Linked DNA regions of Homo sapiens: region 1 is linked to region 2. The links are contacts of gene promoters, found by promoter capture Hi-C in human tissues and cell types (Jung and others, 2019). All regions are on one chromosome and are shown on one strand. The core of a region is centred on a gene start or on the middle of the fragment in contact, and the rest is flanking DNA. Distances in the headings are between cores, read along the strand shown.

Evidence for each region. The method cuts DNA at HindIII sites, captures the fragments that hold promoters and counts their contacts. A contact is called where the count stands out against the background at its distance.
Region 1: a contact is called between a fragment that was not itself captured here and the fragment with the promoter of CSTB in region 2, in 2 of the 25 tissues and cell types used here (dorsolateral prefrontal cortex and mesendoderm cells).

What each region holds. Positions count from the first base shown.
Region 1 is chr21:43,673,676-43,676,525 of GRCh38, forward strand. It overlaps RRP1B (ribosomal RNA processing 1B), which reads left to right. Exons shown (of 16, transcript NM_015056.3): 4 at 195-280; 5 at 961-1,022; 6 at 1,359-1,488; 7 at 2,597-2,661. Among named protein-coding and RNA genes, the nearest start is that of RRP1B, 16 kb to the left of the region's middle. RefSeq lists an enhancer at 565-1,064. The HindIII fragment of the contact is 5,299 bases long and covers 1-2,850 here.
Region 2 is chr21:43,774,858-43,777,557 of GRCh38, forward strand. It overlaps CSTB (cystatin B), which reads right to left and starts at 1,451. Exons shown (of 3, transcript NM_000100.4): 1 at 1,347-1,451. The coding sequence starts at 1,412. RefSeq lists a silencer at 1,030-2,029. The HindIII fragment of the contact is 5,981 bases long and covers 1-2,700 here.

The DNA of each region.
Region 1 (2,850 bases), core at 40-2,539, 100 kb before region 2:
AGTGATGTTTAATAAATAAGTGTAAAAGAAATGATTGAGTATATTTAATTATCAACAGATTTTCTAGCTGCCCAAGAATTACTGAGAAAAGTGAATAATAAATAATGCTAGTTTGTTCCTCTTCATTATTTTCTTGCTATATGGTAGTATGTTGATGTGGAAGCCAAGTATTTAGAGCCTTTTGTTCACTGCAGAACACCTGTTCATTCAGACCTTTTGGCAAACCATGAATCGAGAATGGAAAGGAATAGACAGGCTACGCCTGGACAAATACTATATGGTAAGATCTGCCGCAGTTACTTCAAAAACTCCTGGGAAGAAAAGAATGTCCTTTATCTTAAAAACAATGGGAAGGTTTATTTGTGAAGCAAAACAAGCCACAGGCTTAGTGTGAAGGAAGAATTTGAATGTGTCCTGGAAAGCTTCTCTGTTTTGGCTTTTGCAGTTCTTAAGGATGAGTTTGGGGAGCATTAGTGAATACGTTGGGTATTTTTTGAGACAGAGTCTCTCTTGCTCTGCTCCCCAGGTTGGAGTGCAGTGGTGCGATCTCAGCTCACTGCGACCTCCGCCTCCTGGGTTCAAGTGATTCTCATGCCTCGGCCTCCTGAGTAGCTGGGATTACAGACGCGCACCACCATGCTTGGCTAATTTTTGTATTTTTAGTAGAGATAAGGGTTTGCCATGTTGGCCAGGGTGGTCTTGAACTCCTGGCCTCAAATGATCTGCCCACCTCAGCCTCCCAAAATGCTGGGGTTACAGGCATGAGCCACTGTTCTTGGCTATGAATATGTTTTTTGATCTAGAAGGTAAATATGACTGTTGTGAATATTTTTTTACTTTTGGGATCCAGGCCATAACAATTTCATTGGTCCCTTCATTCTGCTGAGCTGATTAATATTTCTTACCTTTCCTTTTTTTTTTTTTTTTTTTTTTTTTTAAACAAAAATTGCCTTTCTTTAGCTGATTCGTCTGGTCCTGAGGCAGTCCTTTGAAGTCTTGAAGCGAAATGGCTGGGAAGAAAGGTCAGTAAACCATTTGAGTTAGCATGTGGTAGCCTTAAAACTTAAAAGGTAGTAGAGTGTCAAGTTTTCTGAACTTGTAGAGTACCAATGAGAAGCTCGATACATCGTTACCTATAGAGAATTGAAATCCAGTAGAAGGCATAAAACAGTTAAGTATATATGACAGTTAACATTTTATCCTGATTTAAGTGATTGCTTTTTTCCTTGTAAAATGATTTCAGCCTTGCATTGATTGTTAGGCTGTGTAGGTTCTAGACGGAGTATTTTTGTTTCTCTTTGGGAAGTGGGACGTGTTGGCATACTGTCATTCACAGAAGCATGCGTTTGGTTCTTTAGCCGAATCAAGGTTTTCTTGGATGTCCTGATGAAGGAGGTCCTGTGTCCTGAGAGTCAGTCTCCTAATGGAGTGAGATTCCACTTCATTGATATTTACCTGGATGAACTCTCCAAAGTCGGGGGGAAGGAGGTAAGCAGCTGCCGACAGGCTGCCCACGGGGTGAGGGGGCCGCCAGTGTTCGCAGTAGTCGCCAGTGAAGTGCTGTGGGGTGGCCCTTCGCATGACCAGCGACTGTAGCAGCGTGAATTGCTTCAGTCCTGTCTGGGAATGTGTCCTAAGCAGCTGGTGGGATGGGATTTGTGCACTGAGGATGTACATGACAGTCTTACCTGTAAAACGGAATTGAAAGCAACCTACAGACTCCACTAAAGAACTCACTAACACGGGGGAGTACTCAGGATCTAGGGAGCTTTATAAAGCGCTAGGAAAAGCTATGCAAATGGTAGACATTTTTAAGGTATATACTCATAAATAGACAAAAGGCTGGAAAGGAAACATACATTTTTTAGTATGCAAATGATTCTCTGAATGTGGGAATGTGCACAGATTTTACTTTTCTTTCACAGGTGTTTTGCAGGGAACATGTATTTTTTTGATTAAAAGAAAATATGTTATATTCAAAACAATAATTCTTTTGTCTCACACTTGGAGGCACTGTCCCTGTTACCCCTCTTGTAGAGGAAGTATATGTATGTCCTGTATCAGGTTTGTCCAGCCCGCAGCCTGAGAGCTGCATGGGGCCCAGGGCAGCTTTGAATGTGGCCCAACACAAATTTATAAACTTTCTTAAAATATGAGGGGTATTTTGCATTTTATTTTATTTTATTTTATTTTATTTTATTTTATTTTATTTTATTTTATTTTTAGCTCATCAGCTGTTGTTAGTGTTTGTGTATTTTAGGTGTGCCCCAAGACAGTTATTCTTCCATTATGGCTTGGGGAAGTCACAAGATTGGACACCCGTGTTGTATATGTTGGGCATATAGGATAGTGCAGGTCAGGCTGGGTGGCTTTCTCCAGCCACTGCACTAAGATACCAAGTAGCTGGAGGGCGGCCTCAGTCTTCAGCCTGGCTCCAGGCTTCTGTGGCATTCCACAGGGGCGCTTTGGGGCTGTGTGAGACAGGCATTGCTTGGTCTAACTCCACCTTTGTAAAAGATGGGAATGGTCCCTTTTTCAAGGACATGTCAAGAAGGGAAAGGCTCTTTCTCAATTTTTCCCTTTTTCTAAATTACAGCTTTTAGCAGATCAGAATCTCAAGTTTATCGATCCATTCTGCAAAATTGCTGCGAAGACGAAGGAGTAAGTGATTCCCCTGTTCGTTCCTCCTGCTCCGTGGCATTTGCTCATGGGAGTTACTTGCCGTCGTGCAGCCTGGCACAGGGTACCCAGGACACTGCTTCACAGCAGAGAGCGGCTGGAGAAGACAGCCGAAGCTTTGAGCAGTGATTTGGCTCTTCTAGCTTCAGTATTTGCCTCACTCATTCCAGG
Region 2 (2,700 bases), core at 201-2,700:
ACTGGCTCTTCACACAATTGTCTCTTACAACTGAAGGGACATTTAAACTGTCAGCCTAATAATAAAGTAGAAAAAAACAGTTCCAGCTGGGTACGGTGGCTCAAGGATGTAATCCCAGAACTTTGGGAGGCTGAGGTGGGCGGATCACTTGAGGTCAGGAGTTTGAGACCAGCCTAGCCAAATGGCAAAACCCCGTTTCTACTAAAAATACAAAAATTAGCTGGGCGTGGTGGCGAGCACCTGCAATCCCAGCTACTCGGGAGGCTAAGGCAGGAGAATCCCTTGAACCTGGGAAGCGGAGGTTGCAGTGGGCCGAGATTGTGCCACTGCACTCCACCCTGGGCAAGAGTGAGACTGAGTCTCAAAAACAAAAAAAAAAAACACAGGCCTCAGCATCGCCTGGACCTGTTCTTGCTTGGGGCATCCCGTCGGTCACCAACCATGACAGCGAGGCGGGCCTGGCCTGTGCTCCACCGGAGGGGGCTTCTTGCACAGATGACCTGCTCATTTCAGCCCCTCCAGAATCTTCTGGCAGGCGCAGAGCAACAGGACGTCCATTTTACAGACGAGGAAACCGAGACACAGGGAAGGTTGCCATCTGCAACCCAGCCCGGTTTTTATCTTGTTTTTCTGTGTTTTAACTTTTTATTTAGACTTACAGTTTGAAACAGTGCTAGAATCGGAAGCATGTAAAGAAACCTGTGGACCTTTTATGCAGATACACTTAAGTTTTTAACCCATGTGCCTTATCACTGGGGACCTCTTGCACTCTCTCTCATGATTTTTTTCCCGAACTAGATGAGGATATTGACAAAGATTCTTGCTTGGCCAAACTGTAGTCGGGCTCCTGAAGCGCCTAGGCCACCTGCGCACTTCCTTGTAAAATCCACTTTTAGCAAGAAGCCTGGCTAAGTCAGTTTAGCCAGACCCTTCCCACCCGCTTGCTATCGGATCACCGTGGAGATCGGAGCCGGCTGCTCACCTGCGCCATCGCCGGCGACGCCCGATCACCCTGCCTGCCTGAAACCAGAAGCGCCTCATCCCTGGGGTTTCCTCTCAGAGACTGTCCATGCAGGGACCGCACCCTGCTCCGGGCTATCAATTCCCACTCGCCCTTGCTGTATTCAGCGGAGCCCAATGTCTCCCCAGCGGCGCCCCAGGCGCGGCCCCCCGCTGCTCACTCGCGCGCAGCGCCCGAGCGGAGGGAGGCCTCTCACGGCCACAGCCCGGGCCAGCCCAGGGGTGCGCAGCGGGGCCAAAGCGGCTTCTTTCGCTCCAGGAGCCGCGGCCGCGCCCTGAGGCTAAGGCAGGACTCCGGGCCGGCCCCGTCCCCGCGGCCCACCCACCTGGTCGGCGATGTGCTGGGTCTCGGCGGTGGCCGGCTGCGTGGCGGAGGGCGCCCCGCACATCATCTTGGCGGCGACGGAGGGAATCTGGCGAGGGGACTCGGCGAGGGGACGCGGCGGCTCCTCAGCCCAAGTAGGCGCTGGGGTCACGTGACGCGCGGGCGGAACCAAGGGGCGGGGAGGAGGCACTTTGGCTTCGGAGTCCCCTGCGGGGTCGCGGTGGCCCCGCAAGAAGGGACGCGCGGGGCGGGGCGCGGGGCGGGGCGCGGGGCGGGGAACCTGGCCACCACTCGCCGCAGGCTGGGTCTCCGCGCCCAGCGCTGGTGTCGGGAGGGAGCGCCCCCCTCCCGGGGCTGGTATCGTCTTTCCGGGCGCCGAGTCACACGGACCGGGGCGGGGGCGCGGCCGGGTGTCGCCGGTGGGTTGGGCGCGCAGGGTGGGACGATAGGGAAGGGGCAGTCGGAGTAGGCGCAATCCTGCAGGGTGGCGGGGTCCGGGCCGCGCACGAGGGAGGGCGGGGCGCAGCGCTGCAGGGGTCAGGGGTCAGGGGTCCCGGCCCCGCGGGAGCAGGTGTGCGGGCTGCAGTGGACATCACCGCTTGTGACCGAGAACACTGAAGGCTGAAGGGGGTGGACAGAGGGGCCCAGGGAGGGGGAGACGGCGCCCACGCGCTCCAGGCTGGGTGGGGGCAGGGGGTAGATCAGAGGGATGAGAAGAAGGCAGGGTTCTCTGGTGGAATTTGCGTTTTAGGATTTCTTTTCTTTCTTTCCTTTTCTTTTCTTTTTTTTTTTTTTTTTTTTTTTTTGAGACGGAGTCTCGCTCTGTCTCCCAGGCTGGAGTGCAGTGGCGCGATCTCGGCTTACTGCAGGCTCCGCCTCCCGGGTTCACGCCATTCTCCTGCCTCAGCCTCCCGAGTAGCTGGGACTACAGGCGCCCGCCACCACACCTGGCTAATTTTTGTATTTTTAGTAGAGACGGGGTTTCACTGTGTTAGCCAGGATGGTCTCGATCTCCTGACCTTGTGATCCACCCGCCTTGGCCTCCCAAAGTGCTGGGATTACAGGTGTGAGCCACTGCGCCCGGCCTTTTTTTTTTTTTTTTTGAGACGGAGTCTGGATCTGTCGCCTAGGCTGGAGTGCAGTGGCGCAATCTCGGCTCACTGCAAGCTCCGCCTCCGGGGTTCACACCATTCTCCTGCCTCGGCCTCCCGAGTAGCTGGGACTACAGGCGCGCGCCTTCATGCGCAGCTAATTTTTGTGTTTTTAGTAGAGACGGGGTTTCACCATATTGGCCAGGCTGGTCTCGAACTCCTGACCTCGTGATCCACCTGCCTCGGGCTCCCAAAGTGCTGGAA